Linked DNA regions of Homo sapiens: regions 2 and 3 are each linked to region 1. The links are contacts of gene promoters, found by promoter capture Hi-C in human tissues and cell types (Jung and others, 2019). All regions are on one chromosome and are shown on one strand. The core of a region is centred on a gene start or on the middle of the fragment in contact, and the rest is flanking DNA. Distances in the headings are between cores, read along the strand shown.

What was found. Contacts are between HindIII fragments. The study calls those that stand out against the background at their distance.
Region 2: a fragment that was not itself captured here is called in contact with the fragment with the promoter of DNTT in region 1 in 2 of the 25 tissues and cell types used here (mesenchymal stem cells and spleen).
Region 3: a fragment that was not itself captured here is called in contact with the fragment with the promoter of DNTT in region 1 in 1 of the 25 tissues and cell types used here (liver).

The regions. Positions count from the first base shown.
Region 1 is chr10:96,301,714-96,305,853 of GRCh38, forward strand. DNTT (DNA nucleotidylexotransferase) reads left to right here and starts at 2,721. Exons shown (of 11, transcript NM_004088.4): 1 at 2,721-2,987. The coding sequence starts at 2,785. The HindIII fragment of the contact is 8,985 bases long and covers 1-4,140 here.
Region 2 is chr10:96,170,207-96,174,141 of GRCh38, forward strand. It overlaps a transcript of ZNF518A not described here. Among named protein-coding and RNA genes, the nearest start is that of ZNF518A, 42 kb to the left of the region's middle. The HindIII fragment of the contact is 4,404 bases long and covers 1-3,935 here.
Region 3 is chr10:96,145,246-96,149,085 of GRCh38, forward strand. All of the region lies in intron 3 of ZNF518A (zinc finger protein 518A), which reads left to right. LOC124902486 (a long non-coding RNA gene) reads right to left here and starts at 3,544. Exons shown (of 2, transcript XR_007062254.1): 1 at 1-3,544. The HindIII fragment of the contact is 5,609 bases long and covers 1-3,840 here.

The DNA of each region.
Region 1 (4,140 bases), core at 1,471-3,970:
AAAGAAAAAAGCTAAAGACTAGAACCAATCACTGCTGTCTGAGTAGAGAACCATTACTGCGAAGACCCTGACCTTTGTAGCAGCAAGCAAACAAAAAAGGTCACCTCTTTCCTCTTATCTAGACTTTCAGTCTCCCTCTGGTATCACCATTGGCAGAGCCTGACATAAAGTCAGCTGGCAAATGAGAAAGAGAATTTGCTCAGTCCCAGCCTCAACCTCATGGAATCCATCAGAAAAAAGGTAGATTTGCAGCTGAGAGATGATAGCCTGATAACCAGACAGGCATCAGTACATTTGAAATTTTTGTTGGTAATGTTTTCAATACCAGTGACTCAAAGCAAATTAAAATGTGACATTGTTTAATATGATATTTTGATGATTTAGTAGTTTCACAAAACATATATATCCGATTTCAGATTGAACTGGAATGTCTCTAAAAACAAAACATAAATTACTACGAACTGACATTTATTGAAAGTGCTACCTTTGTGTCAAGCACTCTGCCCAGCAGGTTATGTGGGCTATCTCAGTCCTCATTTTACAGATGGGGTAAAGCTGAGGCTTAAAGAAGTTAAGCAACTTGCTTTGAAGCTTCAGAGCAATAGAGACAGAATTTTTATGGGCAGCCTGACGAAGCCTGAGCTGTTAGCCACATCTCAGTACTACCTCCCCATTCCCTTTACTGCTTAGGTGGTGCACCTTTACTATTAGGTGGCTATACCTTGGGAACGAACACAACAATCCCAGACTCTTGCTAGAATCATTTACTTAACTCCCTGCTGCAGCACCATTTGGTAGCTAAGACTGCATTCTAACATGAAGCATTCAGCTCTTCAGTAACCAAACACATAATAGTGAGGGTCAAAATAGACTCTCATCTTCCAGTTGATCTCTAGCAAACAGTCATAGCATCCGGGAATTTCAGGGCTGCATTATAGGCCCTTACCAGATGTCTGAATTCCCTTCTGTTACAGCTCAATAAACAGTTATCCAGCATCTGTTTGAATACTTTTCATGACTTGTAACACACAACTGTATAAAGCTGCTCTCTGTATATTTTTAGACAGCTGAGTTACTAAACAGGTCTTACTTGCGGAGAACTGGAATCTATTACTCTACAATTTCCACCTGAAGATTTCTGATTTTGCTTTCTTGAGCAACACAGAGTGCTTTACCCATGCCTTAAGGCAGCTGTCACATGACTCTTCCCCTAATACGGTTGTGAGGTGCTCACGTGTTTTGGAGATAGCAAAAGTCTCAAATAATATGGCACAGACGGCCAGCCATGGTGGCTCACACCTGTAATCCCAGCACTCTGAGAGGCCGAGGTGGGCCGATCACCTGAGGTCAGGAGTTCAAGACCAGCCTGACCAACATGGTGAAACCCCATCTCTACTAAAAATACAAAAATTAGCCAGGCGTGGTGGCGTGCGCCTGTAATCCCAGCTATTCAGGAGGCTGAGGTAGCAGGATCGCTTGAACCCAGGAGGTGGAGGTTGCAGTGAGCTGAGATTGTGTCACTGCACTCTAGCCTGGGCAATAAGAGCGAAACTCCATCTCCAAAAAAAAAAAAAAGGACAAAGGGTGAGCAGAGCTCAGATTGGTTATTGGAGAAGACAATACAGAGGAAGGCTCCTTGGTGGTTAAGAGTAGTCTTTTAAAATCAGACAGATCTGAGTCCAAATCCTAGCTCAATCATTTCTCAGTTGTGAAAATTCAGTAGCTCTGTGACCTTGGGCAAATTGTTTAGCCAAATGAGAAAGGTAGGACCACCTGACAGTGGTATTGTGAGGATCCTGTCAGCTAAGGCTGGTAGGTGCTTGCCTTGGCCGTGTAGTAGCTGCTCAGGAAATGAGATCTATAGAGTGTATTGGTGAAAGACAAATTTAATTTTGCACATAAAGTTATGAAAATGTCTCCTTATGGCAGTGGTTATCATCTAAAAGTCATACCATCCCACTGAAGAAGACCTATTTTAGGGTTTATAACAGACTACTCTCTGGACAACCTTAATCCACTTAAAAAACTAATATATGCATACAGCATTTGGAATCCAAAGAACTGAATTCAAGATATGGCTTGGCCCCTTATTCTGTGATCTTGAATAACTGAGCCTTGGTTCTCTTGCTTATAAAATGTACCTATGTAAGTGAACAGGTGGTAATACCCACCATGAAATACTATGGAGCAGTTAGAAGCAACAGAGCAATTAGAATACGGATCTGGAAAACATAGTTCCAAGTGAAATAAAAAGGTGATTGGCAAAATGAGAAATGTAACAATGCCATTTATGTAAAGTCAAAACAACCACAAGCAGAATATAACACCCATGCAAATAACAGACATCCAGTACAGTGTAATGATTGTCTACAAAAGGAGGAGAATGCAAGTGAGTTGGGAGGTTTAAAGGGGATCAATAAATAAAGACCACAGAAGGGCCTCAGTACATTTAGAAATAAATAACATGCAAACAATGATGCTTCCCTACCTTCCTCACGAGGTTACTCTGAGGAGCTAATGAGATTGTGCGTATGAAAACAAAAGTTAATTGACTGTCTTCATTATGATCTCCATATTGGACAAATGAACTGAACAGAGATAAAAATTCCCCATCACACTTTGGCAGGAAGCTGTTGCCAGGGCAGCACCTGTGAAGCCCTGGCCTGGCTTCAGAGTCTGCTGGTGAGATGACATCAAAACCCTTCGTGTAGGAGGGTGGCAGTCTCCCTCCCTTCTGGAGACACCACCAGATGGGCCAGCCAGAGGCAGCAGCAGCCTCTTCCCATGGATCCACCACGAGCGTCCCACTTGAGCCCTCGGAAGAAGAGACCCCGGCAGACGGGTGCCTTGATGGCCTCCTCTCCTCAAGACATCAAATTTCAAGATTTGGTCGTCTTCATTTTGGAGAAGAAAATGGGAACCACCCGCAGAGCGTTCCTCATGGAGCTGGCCCGCAGGAAAGGGTTCAGGGTTGAAAATGAGCTCAGGTAGGACAGCATCGATCTTGCTTTGTAAATAAGCAGAGGCTTTGTGAACAGCTTCTTGGGAACCCAAGGAACCTGTGTTTTCTTCCACATGTGGAAGAGGTGATCTTCCCACTGGGAGAACAGCAGATTTGAAATCAAAGAACAACTAGTTAAGGAAAACGAGATAAGTGGGGACTGAATACAATTATATTGAAACTAGTTGACACCAAAAGATGAGATAAATTTTTTGTTTTTTGCTTTTCACTCCTATGAGATGTGTTATTTAGGGATGATAAGCAGAACACTAATTGGAAAATTTAATGCTGAACCACTCAATTCTATTCTTGACCAATTTGAACAAAGTATCACTGGGTTCAACAAAAAAGTTTTGGCTACTTTGATGCAGAAAGATGATTTGGTTGCTTGGTTCTTACCTATACATCTGGGCGTGCTAAGGCAGCTAGCATCTGTGGTGGGCGAGGATGACTAGCCAGCTTACCACAGGCACCCAGATGTGGCCTTGACCACATTTTTCCAAAGAGTGGTCCTAGTGGGGTTCTTAGAAAGAGAGATGCTAGGTAAAGATGTATTCACTGTTAAGACAGCTCTGTCCAGGGATGACAGACATCACACTGAGTGAGATGTAATCAGAGCCCAGGCAAGGAGGCGATAGAAGCATTTGGACCACCTAGATTGGTTCACTCACTAATCCACTCACCTTGAACAGCAATTATTCTTGTTGTTTTTCTAACTTCTGTGTAAGCTCTTCACTGATCTCAAATAGATGAAGAGAAAACAAGCAAAATCCAGAAACAAATGGTATTAGAACCTTGACATAAGTGATGGTTCTGGATTAAACTGTTAAGGGGCTTGCAATGAAGGAGTAATGATTTATGCAGTTGACCGCTTTGACTGTGCAAGAAATAAATTGACCACAAATTTTCAGGCAAAACTATAAAAATTTTATGTGAAAGGACATTTTGATTGTATAAATAGTCTTTGATATTTGAAAATAAAACTGACAAGCATGTCATGCAGAAGAAATGTCAGCTTCCAAGTGTTGAGGAGACATATTTCAAAAGTCAATTTTCAGATATGTTAATGTTCGCAACACCCTGATTCATATGACATTGACTTTTCATTCATTTTTTGCTAAAATGCCCCATTCAGAAAT
Region 2 (3,935 bases), core at 939-3,438, 130 kb before region 1:
TTTCTTCCAAGCTTTTTGGTTAGTCTGTTGCCTGCCCCAGTTGTTATCTGTCACCCCAGGCAGCAGCAAATAAAGCATTTGGCTGCTAATATTTTAAACATTACCCCTAGTTAGCAACTTTAGCTCTGGACCAACTCCAAGTTAGGCAAAATAAAGACAGGCCTTCTGAGCTGGACTTCCAGGGAGCCACCAGACAGGTCAGTATAAATAGTTAAGGTATTTTGTGATTGAAGACTGTTCTTCCTCTAGTACTGGGAATGAGGGCTGTTATTTACAGTGCTGTTGCTGAGGTGAGGAGTGGAGAATGAGACTAGAGTAACTTAAAATACCACAAAGCTGTTGTTCTGAGATTCAGCCATTTTTCTTGGGTAAGCACTTCCTGGGATGCTAAAAGCTTTTGATTAGTTTAAAAAGTTCCAAAAAAGTTGATTGTGACAGTTTGTTTGCCAGACTTTTAATTGCTTTTATGTTAGGGCAGAATTTCAAAGTCTTTGCTATTTTCACTGACACCACATTATAGATAAATTTAACTTCATCGAAATTTGAAAAATATTGCTTCAATGGATATCATCAAGAAAGTGAAAAGACAACCCACAGATTGGGAAGAAATGTTGTATATCATACATCTGATTATGCATTTTAATTTAGAATAATGAACCCTTACAACTTAGGAGACGTAACCCAATTTAAAGTGGGCAAAAGATCTGAATAGCATTTCTCTAAAGAAGATATACAAATGGCCAAAAAGCACATGAAAAGATGCGCAACATCATTAGTCATTAGGGAAATGAAAACCAAAACCATGTGAGATACCACTAAAAAAAAAAAAACCCAGATGATGAGGCCAGGAAGAGTTTGGAACCCTCATACACTGTTGGTGGGAATGCAAAATGGTACAGCCATCTTGGAAAACAGTATGGGACTTCCTCAATAGGTTACATGTAATGTTACCCTGTGGCCCAGAGCTGCTTCTCCTAAGTATATACCCCAAATAATTTAAAACAGGTGTTCACACAAAAATTTATACAAGGATGTTAATAGCAGTATTATTCATAGTGGCCTTAAAAGTGGAAACAACCCAAAGTCCATCAACTGATGAATGCATAAATAAATGTGTATATCTATACAATTGAATATTATTCAATCATAAAAATAAATGAGATAGTAATTTATGCTACAACTTGGATGAATGTTGGAAGCATTAGGTTAAGTGAAAGAAGCCAGTAACAAAACCATGAGTCCATTCATATGAAATGTCAAGAATAGGCACATTTACAAAGAATGAAAGTAGATTAGTAGTGGTTGCTTAAAGCTAAAGGTGTTTAAAGGAAATACAGAGGGGACTGCTAAAGGACAAGGAGTGATAAAAATGTTCTAAAATTGTGATTGTTGTGTAATTCTGGGAATTCACTAAGAAACCATTGAAGTGTACATTTTATATGTGTGAATTATATGGTATGCAAATGATAGTAAGCACACATAGACACATGTATAATGTGGGACACCATTAAGGGCAACATATGTGTAATGAAAAATTTTTTAAGTAGTCAAAGAAATAATGACTAGAAACTTCCCAAGTTTGGTGAAAAACATATTTTCAGAAGCTCAACATACTCCAAGTAGGATAAATGCAAAGAGATTCAAAAGTAGACATGTTATTGTCAGAATGTTGAAAGACAAAAAAAAAATCTTGAAATTATCATAAGAAAAATGATGCATGGAACCCCCAATAAGATTAATAGCTGACTTCTCCCCAAAACCAAGAAGGCTAAAGGGAAGTGGATAACATATTCAAAGTTTTGAAATAGAAACAAAACTGTCTTTCAAAATTGAAGGCAAAATGGATATTTCAAATAAGCAAAATGAGAATTCATTTGTTGCAAACCTACCTTTCAGTAAATACTAAAAGTTCTTAAGACTGAAAGCAAATGATGTCGAGAATAATTTGAATTCACAGGAAAAAAGAAAGACATTACATGAAAGTAAGTAAGTATAAAAGAGAATATAATTGCATCTTTATTTTCCTTTCTCTTAAAAGGCAATCAAATAAAACATTATGCATATAATTGTATTTTGGGGCCAATAGCAGAAATGTTATAACAACACAAGGAAAGTAGATGGGAATAAAGCTATTTTGCAGTAAGGAAATGACACCAGAGAGTATCTCAAATCCACGGGAAGAAGTGAAAAGAACCATAATAGTAAATAAGAAGGCTCATATGAAAAACTCTATAAATATATACTTGTTCTTTTTAAATTACCTTTAAAAGACACAAAATTATTAATAAGTATAACAGTTTATTCTTGGGTTTGTAACATGTAAACCTATTGTGTGTAACAATAAGGTGGGGGAGGGAACAGAGCCATATAGTAGTAAAGTTTTGATATTTCACTGGAATTAAGTTTGTATTTATCTGAAATAGATTCTGATAAAGATGTATATTGTAAGCCCTAGAGCAACCACTAAGAAAATTCCTCAAAAATAAAACATCATTAAAGGGATTAAAATTTATTTTAAAATAGCCAAAGAAAACAGTAAAGGAGAAACAAATTAACAAAAAAGGAATGAAACCTATAAAAAACAAAAGCACACTGGTAGACATAAATCCAACTATATTAATATAACATTAAATGTGAATGGATTAAACAGTCCAATCAAAAGGCAGAAATTTTCAGACTGGATAAATAAGATTCATGTGCAGTAAACTCTCCATATCTGTGCGTTCTACATCTGCAGATTCAATCAATCATGGATCAAAAATGTAGTTAGGCTTATGATGATTGTGTCTGAGCATGTACAGACTTTTTTTCTTATTCCCTAAACAATACAGTATAACAACTATTTAGATAGCATTTGCATTGTATTAGGTATTATAAGTAATCTGGAGATTAAAATATACAGGAGGATATTTGTAGGTTATGTGTGAATACTATGCCATTTTACATAAGGGATTTGAACATCCATAATTTTAGTTTCCACAAGAGCTTCTAGAACCAGTCCCCCATGGAGGCTAAGAGACAACTGTTTATATTATGGAAATTGGCAACAGGTACAAACCAGGGCTTTTTACAACCCCTGACCAAGAGAGCTGATTTCACCAGCACCCTCTGTGGAGATCACAGTTCTAGTTTTTGTCCCATGAATCTGAACAAATCATTCTGTCTACAGGAGCTACACTTTAGACTCAAAGATATTAGTAGGTTGAAATTTTAAAAATGGAAAAACATGTTGTCTCAGTCATTTTGGGCTGCCATAACAAAATACCATAGACTGAGGGGATGAAACAACAAGAATTTATTTTCAAAAAACATTATTAACTATAAAGAGGGAAATTTTATAACAGTAAAAGTGTCAACTCATCAGGAAGCTATAACAATTTTAAACATATATGCACCTAATAACAGAACCACAAAATCCATGAAGCAAAAACTGACAGAATTGAAGGGAGAAGTAGACAAGTAAAGAATGATAGTTGGACACTTTGATACTCCACTTTGCATAAATGAATAAAATAACAACAAAAGATTGGCAAGGAAATAGAAAACTTGAACAGCACTACAAACTAGATCTACTACATCTATGAAATCCACTCCAAAACAGGAGAATAGATATGCTTTTCCAAAGAACATGGAACATTCTCCAGGATATACCATATAAAACAAGTCTCAGTGAATTTGAGAGGATGGGAATGATACAAAGTGTGTTCTCCAACCACAATAGAATTAAATTAGAACTTAAAAACAAAGGAAATTTTGAAAATTCATAAATATATGGCAATTGAACAATACTCATAAATAATCAATGAATCAAGTAACAAACTTTCTTGAGGTTAATAAAAGAAAAAACATAACCCACCAAATCTTGTGAGATGTGACTAAAGCAGTGCTTAGAGGGAAATTTATATCTGTGAGTATATTTAAAAAATAAAAAAACT
Region 3 (3,840 bases), core at 1,313-3,812, 160 kb before region 1:
TTTTAGTAGAGATGGGGTTTCACCATGTTGGTCAGGCTGGTCTTGAACTCCTGACCTCAGGTGATCCTCCCACCTTGGCCTCCCAAAGTGTTGGGATTAAAGGCGTGAGCCACCGCTCCTGGTCGCATCTTTTTATTTATGTAACAACACTGCATACATAACTGCTATTCTGGTTGTATTAATTCCCATTACTTTTTAGGTAGCCTCATTCCTCACAAATTAATTGTTAAATAAACCGACTAAAAACACTTCTCTTATAGCATGAATTTATATAGCATGAATGAAATTCAGTAACATAATTCATCATTCTCTTGAGTGTTTACCATTAACTTTGACGCTTGTGTTAAAGTGTTCTCTGCAGTGGTATGACTGGGTACGTGTGTGTTGATATGGAGAACACAGAATTGAATGATACCTGTATTGTTTTGATCTCTTCTTCACCTTTAGTGTCAACATTGATCTGTTTTATACTGGCAGCAAGTATATTATTTTGAGTTTAAGAAAAACTCAGTTGGTTTACCACAGAAATCACTTGCTTTGTTTGAGAATTTGCATCATGCCACTTTTTCATAAAGTTTCATAAAATTGCAGTCTAGAGACAAAAAGATTGCTGTTCTCACAAAGTCCAAATGTAAGGTGTTTGCTTGTGCTATCATAAGGTAGTATGCCAGTGTGGAGGCCATGGTGATCTAAGACAGCATTTTATGAAACACTGACCTAAGAGTAACCAGTGATCACTAGGAACATTTTTGTATGTGTATTCTTCTTGACTTTTAACTTTTGACGCATTTGTTTATCCATTTTCTATCCATCTATCAGTATTTGAACAAATTAAACTCTATATGTCTACTGTTTATTTTTTTTTCACTTAAGGTATGTTAGATATCATTGTGTTAATAAATGTGAGTTTACAGTATTGGTTTTTAAATTGCATAATATTCCCTTACAATACTGTAATTGATTTAATCATCATTTATTGGTGGACACTTATTTTTAATTTTGTGATTTTATAAACGATGGCACAAATAATATTTCTGATTATTAGCTTTAGGATGCATTTCTAGAAGTGAATCAGAAGTTGTATGCCTTTTCTCCAGACTCTTTATGTATGTATTGCAAACTGTTCTTTATAAAGGTCATGCCAGCTTTTATCTCCATCATTAGTATATTACTGTGCCTTTTTTTCCTCACTGACCAACACTAGGTATTAGAAATATGTAACATCTTTTGCAATCTGATTAGCAGAAGTTTTCTTGTTTTTATTTGTTTTGAATTCTAGTGAAGTTGGGCATGTTTTCACTTATATTCCTCTGTGACTTTCTTCTTTGGGTCTTTTGCCTAGTTTGTAACTTGTTTTTATTTTTATTATGAAATGTGTTTATGGACAAAATGCACACTATGTATGTGGTTTAAAGATAAAACAAATATCTGCATACCAACTATTTAAGAAACAGAAGCTCCTTTCCTCTACCCTCATTGTGTTCTCTCTGGTCATATCCTCCTCTCTGCTCCTAACAAATATGAAACTACCATTCTGACTTTTGGTATTTTGGTGACTATAAACACCAAATTGTTTAGTTTTGAAAATTTGGTAGCAAGCCTAAATCTGGCTATACAGTGAAAAGGTAACAGTGCCACTAGTAGATGAAGGCTCCCAGGAGAAGTTAAGGTAACAGCATACCTGGATCATAGTCTGGTTTTAGCTTCTCTGGAGTTTATCAGAGCCACTTTTGGGGAAGTCTAGGTAAATCATGAGTGAATCCTAGCAACCTTAGGGCCCACTGTAAGCAGAGAATCTGGCAGGCTCAGAGTATAGACCAGATAGTGGATGTCTGAGAGAGGCTACTCTGTAATTTTGGTTTCTAAGCTCACCATGCAGTTGATCTGGATATAAAGGTATGGAGGGAAAAGCAGGAACATCATGAGTTTATGTCAATACAAGCCAAATACAGATGAGAATCTGGGCCAGGCTTACCTGGGGATTCTGTCCAATGGTTGAAAAGACGGTACAGTGTCAGTGACGTTTTTGGTGATGGAAGTCCTCAGTGTGTCTTTTGATGTCAAAGATGTCTTGTCTTTGGACTGACAGGAGCATGTGATCTGTGGTCCAACTGTTTGTTATCCTGGTATTTCCCTTTACTGTCATCTTGGGGATATTATTTACTTCTCTCTCCTCCATTTGATCTCCCAATGCATATTATGTCATGTCTTTCTCTCTCTCTGTTTATTCTTTCATTTTGCTGGAGTATATCTTATAGTAACAACTTGGGGAAGGATGTCTGGCAGGTAAATTTTGAGATTTTGCATGTCTTCATTTTACCCTTATACCTAGACCCTTGGCAAAATGTAGAATTCTCGGTTGAAAGCTTTATGCCAGAATTCGAAGGTATTGCCCCTTTGTCTTTGTCCATCTGTTACTGTTGCTGAGAAATCTAAAGTCATTTGATTTCTAATCCTTTGTTTTCTGACCTTTTTTGTTTCTATTTAGAAACTGGATTTTGTCTCTACTGTTAGGAATCTTTGCAATGATATGCCTGCGTACCTTACACTGAGCACTTGGTGGACATTATCATCCTGGAAACTGATTTCCTACAGCTCAGTACTTTAAAAAGTTATTTTATTGATGATTTCCTTCCCCTTTGTACTCTCTTCCTGCCCTCCTGTTAGTCAAATGTTAGACCTCCTAGATTGCTCTTCTTTCTTACCTTGTTTCTCCTATTTTTCATCTCTGTGTTTTGTTTTTTTCTGAGAGGTTATTTCACCTTTACCTTATAGCCCTTCTGTTGCCCCTTTTTGGTTATGTTTTCTTATTTCTTAGAGTTCTTTTTGTTCTTTTGATGTTCCCTTTTTGTGGCATCCTGTTCTTATTTCTTATATCCCTAGAAATCAATGAGTTTTAAATGTTTTGTCTTGGCCGGGCGCGGTGGCTCACGCCTGTAATCCCAGCACTTTGGGAGGCCGAGGTGGGTGGATCACCTGAGGTTGGGAGTTCGATAACCAGCCTGACCAACACGGAGAAACCATGTCTCTACTAAAAATACAAAATTAGCCTGGTGTGGTGGCACATGCCTATAATCCCAGCTACTAGGGAGGCTGAGGCAGGAGAATCGCTTGAACCTGGGAGGTGGAGGTTGTGGTGAGCTGAGATCGTGCCATTGCACTCCAGCCTGGGCAACAAGAGTGGAACTCTGTCTCAAAAAAAAAAATGTTTTGTCTTAGTACATAGTCTCAGTTTCTAACAAATTACTTTTTTTGATTTAATTGGTCTGGATCTTGAACTAATATTAGAGGGTTTTCTCAGACTGTCCAGTAATCCTCTGGCCTGTCTGCTTGTGTCTCAGAAGCTCATGGAAAGCCCCTGTCTGAACCCACAGAAGGGCTTGTAACACAAGGTTTTGACTCCCACTGTGGGGAGCTCTTTGGGCTGGGCCAGGCACCAGAATCTGGCCCAGTGCTTCTCCAACTAGTGAAGCTCCAGAATTTTTTTTGAGACGGAGTCTCGCCCTGTCGCCCAGGCTGGAGTGCAGTGGCATGGTCTCGGCTCACTGCAAGCTCTGCCTCCCAGGTTCACACCATTCTCCTGCCTCAGCCTCCCGAGTAGCTGGGACTACAGGCGCCCACCACCACACCCGGCTAATTTTTTGTATTTTTAGTAAAGACGGGGTTTCACCATGTTAGCCAGGATGGTCTTGATCTCCTGACCTGGTGATCTGCCCGCCTCGGCCTCCCAGAGTGCTGGGATTACAGGCGTGAGCCACCGTGCCTGGCCTGATTTTTTTTTTCTTTTACCTCAATCTGTTACAGCTGATAATTTTAAAGCATAATAAAAATAAATTGCCA